2 separate regions of the Homo sapiens genome follow, and region 2 is linked to region 1. Evidence: promoter capture Hi-C in 16 types of primary human blood cells and fetal thymus (Javierre and others, 2016). All regions are on one chromosome and are shown on one strand. Each heading gives the region's core, a stretch centred on a gene start or on the middle of the fragment in contact. The rest is flanking DNA. Distances are from core to core; before and after follow the strand shown. Region 1 holds the start of C19orf38 (chromosome 19 open reading frame 38). Region 2 holds the start of SLC44A2 (solute carrier family 44 member 2 (CTL2 blood group)).

What was found. Contacts are between HindIII fragments. The CHiCAGO score rates a contact against its expected background, and 5 or more counts as called.
Region 2: the fragment with the promoter of SLC44A2 here is called in contact with the fragment with the promoter of C19orf38 in region 1 in 1 of 17 cell types (neutrophils); the score reaches 7.1 in neutrophils.

Annotation. Positions count from the first base shown.
Region 1 is chr19:10,846,475-10,850,228 of GRCh38, reverse strand. It overlaps C19orf38 (chromosome 19 open reading frame 38), which reads right to left and starts at 1,814. Exons shown (of 7, transcript NM_001136482.3): 1 at 1,690-1,814. The coding sequence starts at 1,720. The HindIII fragment of the contact is 13,315 bases long and covers 1-3,754 here.
Region 2 is chr19:10,623,644-10,627,397 of GRCh38, reverse strand. It overlaps SLC44A2 (solute carrier family 44 member 2 (CTL2 blood group)), which reads right to left and starts at 1,845. Exons shown (of 22, transcript NM_020428.4): 1 at 1,728-1,845; 2 at 1,097-1,145. The coding sequence starts at 1,764. RefSeq lists an enhancer at 2,806-3,387. The HindIII fragment of the contact is 23,966 bases long and covers 1-3,754 here.

The sequences.
Region 1 (3,754 bases), core at 565-3,064:
CGTGGTGAGAGTGGAGGCTGCCCTGGCTATGTGGCCTCGGGCAAGTAGACCACCCTCCCTCAGCCTTGTGTTTTCTGTGAGTCAGGAGGCTAGTGACCCTACCCCACACTGCCTGGCACATGGTGACGGCTCCCTGTAGTTGAATTACTTTTCTTTTTTCTTTTTTTTGTGAGTCGGAGTCTCACTCTGCCACCCAGGATGGAATGTAGTGGTGTGATCTCGGCTCACTACAGCCTCCACCTCCCGGGTTCAAGTGATTCTCCAGCCTCCCAAGTAGCTAGGATTACAGGCATGTGGCACTATGCCTGGCCAATTTTTATATTTTTAGTAGAGATGGGGTTTCACTATATTGGCCAGACTGGTCTCGAACTCCTGGCCTCGTGTGACTCCCCCCACCTCGGCCTCCCAAAGTGCTGGGATTATAGGCGTGAGCTACCATGCCTGGCCATCAGTTTTCAATAATAGCATTGGTTATTACATAGCAACACAACTATACTCTTATTTTTTATTTAATTTATTATTACTTTATTTATTTATTTAGAGACAAAATCTTGCTTTGTCGCCCAGGCTGGAGTACAGTGGCCTCAGCCTCCTGAGTACCTGGGACTATGTGCCACCATGCCTGGCTAATTTTTATATTTTTAGTAGAGACGGGGTTTCACCATGTTGGCCAGGCTGGTGAACCTGGCTAGCTAATTTTGCTTATTTTGTGTAGAGATGGGATCTCACTATGTTGCCCAGATCCTCACCTCAAGTGATCCTCCCACCTTGGCCTCCCACGAGCTGAGTCCTGAGTGGTGAGGAAGGACCCATTTGGAGAGCTGGGGAAGGGCATTCCAACAGAGGGAACAGCATAGGCAAAGGTCCAGGGGATGGAAGGGGAATGGGGGTGTTTAAGGAGGAGCAAACACCTGATGCAGTGGCTCACGCCTGTAATCCCAGCACTTTGGGAGGCCAAGGTGGGAGGACTGCTTGAGCCCAGGAATTTGAGACTAGCCTGGAGAACACAGTGAGACCCTGTCTCTATTTAAAAATAAAAATAAATATTAAAAAAGGAGCAGCAAGGAGGCCATCATGGCAGGAGGGAGGGGGTGAGTGAGGTGGGTGGCAGGAAGGGGAGGGGGTGAGTGAGAGGGAGGGCAGGAGAAGGAAGGGCAGAGGACTTTTATCTCCTTTCCCAGGCTTGGGTGAAGAATACGGATTTTGGAGCACGGCTTCCTGCAGGATGGTCTCCTGGGGATCCATCTCTCTCCTGATTGCCCACAGGCTTCTGAGCAGAGTGTCTGGCCAGGTGAGGTCTATACAAACCCTCCCTCGTCCAGCCTCCAACCCCCACCCACCCCTGCCACACTGATATCCCCCTAGGTAGACCCTCCTGCTGCCCCAGCACTCAAGGAGCCTTCAGAGACGAAGCGGGGCTGAATCATGGGGTGTGGGCACAGCTGACTCCAGAGGGGTGATATTTCTGATATTCATAAACTTGGGGGTGATGAGGAGCCTAAGAAGAAAAAACCAACACTACTGGAGAGTTTCCAAGGCTCAGGGGGAAAACCCATCTGCCAAGGGCTCAGCCTCCTCGATGCCCTGAGAACGGCAGCCCCTGCACTGGTTTCTGCCCCTGGAGCGGCAAGGTGGACAGAGGATGGGGGGAAAGGCGTGGGGGATCTGAGAGGGGGGCTTCAGACTCACCAGCTGCAAAGAGCAAGATGGTCCAGGGCATCTCTCTCTGCGTTTGGCTGGGAAATCCGGCTGAGGCCAGAGGGGCCCAAGGCTCCCCGCCAACTCCTCCTGTGAGGCCAGATCGGGGAAAGGAGAACCAGGGCTGATTCTCGAGCTGAGAGTTTCCTCACTGGCAGGAAGTTGCACACACAGGCTTGGGCACTGAAAGGGACTCTCTCCCCTCCCCACCCCTTCCCCAAACACACATCAGACCCGCGCACCTCTCTGGTTGCGGTTCTGCAGATTAGAGGGGAAAAAAATGGATGAGATGTTTAGGTGGTTTTCACAATTTTTTCCTCTTTTTTTATTTTTATTTTTTGAGACAGAGTCTTGCTCTGTTGCCCAGGCTGGAGTGCAGTGGAGCGATCTCGGCTCACTGCAGCCTCCACCTCCCAGGTTCGAGTGATTCTCCTGCCTCAGCCTCCTGAGTAGCTGGGACTACAGGCAGGAGCCATCATGCACAGCTAATTTTTGTATTTTTAGTAGAGACGGGGTTTTGCTGTGTTGGCCAGGATGGTCTCGATCTCTTGACCTCATTATCTGCCCGCCCCAGCCTCCCAAAGTGCTGGGATTTCAGGCGTGAGCCACCGTGCCCAGCCTTTTGTCTCTCCTTCTAAGAGAACTCCTGGGAATGAGACAGGGTGACAGCAGTGGGATGTTTGGAAACCCATGCCCAAGACACAAACCATAGCCTAACCAGCACCAACATTTAAACAAATATGGGCAGGAGTGGGAGGACATGGTGGTTAGGGCTTGGCCTCTGTGACCTCAGGCATGGCTTACCTCCTTTGAGGCTTCAGTATACTGCTCTGCAGAATGGGGCTAAGAGTAGTAGACATTAGGCCAGACGTGGTGGCTCACGCCTGTAATCCCAGCACTTTGGGAGGCTGAGGTGGGCAGATCACCTGAGGTCAGGAGTTCGAGACCAGGCCAACGTGGTGAAACCCCGTCTCTACTATATACAAAAAATTAGCCGGGCGTGGTGGCACACGCCTGTAATCCCAGCTACTCGGGAGGCTGAGGCAGGAGAATCACTTGAACCCAGGAGATGGAGATTGTGGTGAGTTGAGATCGCGCCATTGCACTCCAGCCTGGGCAACAAGAGTGAAATTCCATCTCAAAAAAAAAAAAAAAAAAAAAGAGCAGTGGACATTAGATTCAAAGAACTTGTAGTAGGAAATGCAACGCCTAGTGGGTAGTGCATGCTCACAAGGTAAAGTTACAGGGAGGAAAAAGACTCAGAAGTTTGATCAGCCACATGAAAGGGAATACCAGTTCCAGATCAATTCTGGATATAGTTTGTGATATAGTTCACAGGATAAACTGCCTCCTGTTTACAGCCCAGAAACTTCCAAGTTTCTCTTACTACTGGGTTTGCATTTATCTTTTTAAACATTTCTGTTCAAGCCAGTCAGGTTTGCTTGGGGGTTTGGACCCAAGAAGGATGTGGCATGTGGTCATCAAACACCAAAATGCGTCATTAGAGTAAACTTTTTTCTTTGGACACAGAAAGTTCAATCCAACCTCAGGGCCTTTGCACACACTATTTCCCTGGCCTGGAACACAATTCTGTCAACCTGGTCAAATCCTGCTTCTCCTTCAGGTCTCAGTTTAAATAGCACTTCTGGGAAAACTTTCCAGGCCCCTCTGGACTTAGAACAATCCCCTAGCTAAATTCTCCCACAGTGCCCTGTAATATTCCTTTATTGCAATTGGCATGCTTGTATCTTCAAGGAATTTGCTCATTTCATCAGAGTTGTCAAATGTATTGGTGTAAAGTTATTTATATCCCCTTACTATCCTTTTAATGTCTGTAGGGTCTGTAGTGATGTTCCTTCTTTCATTCCTGACACATAAATTAGTGAAGTCTCCTTGTCTCTTATCGGTCTTCCTAGGAGCTAATCATTGTTATTGATCTTTTCAAAGTGCCACAGTTTGGATTTGTTGTTTTATTTTCTATTTTATTGCCTTTTGACTTGACTTTATTCTTTTCTTTTTTCTGGTTACCTTATGTTCAATTGGCTCTTCTTTTCCT
Region 2 (3,754 bases), core at 596-3,095, 220 kb after region 1:
TTTTTTTTTAATTTATATACATTCTGTAGAGACAAGGTCTCGCTATGTTGCCCAAGCTAGACTTTTTTTTTTTTTTTGAGAGGGAATCTCACTCTGTCGCCCAGGCTGGAGTGCAGTGGAACGATCTCAGCTTACTGCAACCTCTACCTCCCAGGTTCAAGCGATTCTCCTGCCTCAGTCTCCCAAGTAGCTGGGATTATAGGTGCCCGCCACCATGCCCAGCTAATTCTTGTATTTTTAGTAGAGACAGGGTTTCACCATGTTAGCCAGGCTGGTCTCGAACTCCTAACCTCAAGTGATCCACCTGCCTTGGCCTCCCAAAGTGCTGGGATTATAGGTGTGAGCCACCGTGCCTGGCTGTATTTTATTTTTTTGTTATTTTTTTTTGAGACAGAGTCTCGCTCTTGTCCTCCAGGCTGGAGTGCAGTGGCGCAATCTCAGCTTACTGCAACCTCCACCTCCCAGATTCAAGCAATTCTCCTGCCTCAGCCTTCTGAGTAGCCTCTGAGTAGTCACAGCTACTGGAGAGGCTGAGACAGAAGACGTGCTTGAACCAGGAGGGGAAGGTTGCAGTGAGCTGAGATTGCACCACTCCAGCCTGGGTGACAGAGTGAGACTCCATCTCAAAAATAAATAAATAAATAAATAAATATAAACATGGTAAAAATTAAGTCCAGGCCAGGTGTGGTAACTCACACCTGTAATCCCAGCACTTTGGGAGGCCAAGGCAGGTGGATCGCTTTGAGCTCACGAGGTCGAGACCAGCATGGGCAACACAGCGAAACATCTCTGCTAAAAGTACAAAAAAAAAAAAAAATTAGCCAGGTGTGGTGGTGCAAGCCTGTAATCCCAGCTACTTGGGAGACTGAGGTGGGAGAATTGCTCGAACCCGGGAGGCGAAGGTTGCAGTGAGCCGAGATTGAGATCGCGCCACGGCACTCCAGCCTGGTGACAGAGCAAGACTCCATCTCAAAAAAAAAAAAAAGTTTCAAATATTTGTCACCAGTTTGTTGGAGAACAGATGGGAGGGGGTGTGAAGAGACAGGGATTGGGGTAGTATTAGCGGGGAGAACCCCCCAAAACCCAGAGCTCTTACCTATTGTAAATGGGTCCTTTGAAAGTGGGATCATACTTCTGTGGCGTTCCTGAAAGTCAAGAAGATTAAGATGGATGGGATTGGAGACCTGAACCAAGACAGGGCTGGGAGAGCCCCCTCCCAAAAGCCCCTAGGGGTGTCTTTGCCTTGGCAAGAATAAAATTCAGAGACCTGTGGAATTTTCTGCCTCACCCACCTCCAGGTGACCACACCCAAGCCCCCAGTTCTGGCAGGCCAGGACAGGGGAGGAAGGAGGGATCACTAACTGTGAACAAACTTATTAACTGGCGGCCACCCACTGGGAAGAGGGCTGAAATGGTGACCACCACGGAACCAGGTGGAGATGGGGAAGATCTGAGGTGGGATAGGGGGAAGGAGGCGCCGGCAGCAGTGCCAGGCAGAGGGGTACAGGGGCAGGTCCTTCGGGTAGGGGAGAGTAAGGAGGGTCGTCTGCGAGGCTGCGGGGGATAAGTGGGGTGAAGGGGCCTGGCTGATGGTGGGGAGGCTCCAGGCGCAGATTTGCAATTGCGCTCCCCCTCCAGCCCCCTTCCCTGCGCCCCATGTTCTCTCAAGGCCCCCTCCGAGGGACCGAGGGGTCGGCCCGGGGCTACGGGCGGGGGTCGCTGCCTACCGTGTTTCCCGTAGTAGTGGGGCCGCTCGTCCCCCATCCCTGCAGGCGACCAGCCCCGGCGGCCGCCCGCGCTCTCTCCCGCGCCCCCTCGACCCTCCCGAGTCTGGAGGGAGGCACTGACCGCGCGACTGGCGGCGGCTCCTCCCAGCACAGCGCCAGGCGGGGCGGCCCAAACCGGTCAGACCGGCCCGAGCTGGGCAGCTGCCCAGACTAAGGGACCCGGGAGGGCGCGGGCGGGGCTGCAGCTGCTCCCGCCACTCACCGGCCGGCCGCATTTAGCCTTCCCCGCCCCCACCCGGGAACCCTGCGGCTTCACCCTGGGAACACCCTGCCACCGGGCGATGCCGCCTAGAACCCCTGGCCACCCTGAAAGGGCGTTTCCGTGGCTTCGTTTTGCAGGTGTGGAAACTGAGGCACTGGGAGGGAAAACGGCCTACTGCCCAAACCCAGACAACCAACTGTGGAATGTTGGTGCTGAAAACTTCTCCAAGCTGTGCAGGAAATTAGTTTTCTTTCTGTCTGCTGCTTTTTTTTTTTGAGACAGGATCTCCCTCTGTTGCCCAGGCTGGAGTGCAGTGGTGCAATCACAGCTCATCGCAGTCTCGACCTCCCTGCCTCAAGCCATCCTCCTGACTAAGCCTCCTGAGTAGCTGGGACTACAGGTGCTCTACTGCACTCGGCTAATTTTTAATTTTTTTTGTAGAGATGGGATGTTGCTATGTTGCCCAGGCTCATCTTTAACTCCTGGACTCGTGGGCTCCTCCCACCGTGGCCCCCCAAAGTGCTGGGATTACCTGCGTGCACTACTGGGCCTGGTCTTAGAACAAGTATTTATTCAGCCCTTAGTGGGTGCAGGCCTTGGGCGGGGCACCGCATACAGTGAGGAACCAGAGAGACCCAATCTCCACCCTTGTGGAGCCCACATCCTCCTGGGTCGCCCTGAATTCAAATGCTCCTTCTGCACCCTCTGAACTAGAGGATACTTAACAAAGGGCTTATCTTCCTTAAGCCTCAGTTTCCTCAACTGCAAAATGAGGCTAAAGTATGAAACCAAAACTGACCTCAAAGAGCAGGCATAGGCCAGGTGCAGTGGCTCATGCCTGTAATCCCAGCACTCTGGGAGGCTGAGGCAGGTCGATCAGGATTTCTAAGCCAGCCTGGCCAACATGGTGAAACCCCTTCTCTACTAAAAATACAAACATTAGCCAGTGTGGTGGCACATGCCTGTAATCCCAGCTACTTGGGAAGCTGAGGCAGGAGAATCGCTTAAACCCAGGAGGTGGAGGTTGCAGTGAGCCAAGATTGCCTCACTGCACTCCAACCTGGGGGACAGAGTGAGACTCTGTCTCCAAAAAGAAAAAGAAAAAAGAAAATAGGCTGGGTGTGGTGGCTAACACCTATAATCCCAGCACTTTGGGAGGCCGAGGTGGGCGGATCATGAGGTCAAGAGATCGAGACCATCCTGGCCAACTTGGTGAAACCCCGTCTGTACTAAAAATACAAAAATTAGCTGGATGTTGTGGTGTGCACCTGTAGTCCCAGCTACTTGGGAGGCTGAGGCAGGAGAATCACTTCAACCCGAGAGGCGGAGGTTGCAATGAGCCGAGATCGTGCCACTGCACTCCAGCCTGGGTGACAGAGCGAGTGTCTCAAAAAATCAATCAATCAATAAATCAAAAATTAGCCGGGTGTGGTGGTTCATGCCTGTAATCCCAGCACTGTGGGAGGCCGAGGCGGGCAGATCACTGAGGTCAGGAGTTCAAGACCAGCCTGGCCAACAAGGCAAAACCCTGTCTGTACTAAAAATACAAAAATTAGCCAGGTGTGGTGGTGGGCACCTGTAATCCCAGCTACTGGGGAGGCTGAAGTAGGAGAATCGTTTGAACCTGGGAGGTAGAGGTTGCAGTGAGCCGAGATTATGCCACTGTACTCCAGCCTGGGCGACAGAGCGAGACTCCGCCTCAAAAAAAAAAAAAAATACAATACAATAAAAATAGAGACAGGATCTCACTGTGTTACCCAGGCTG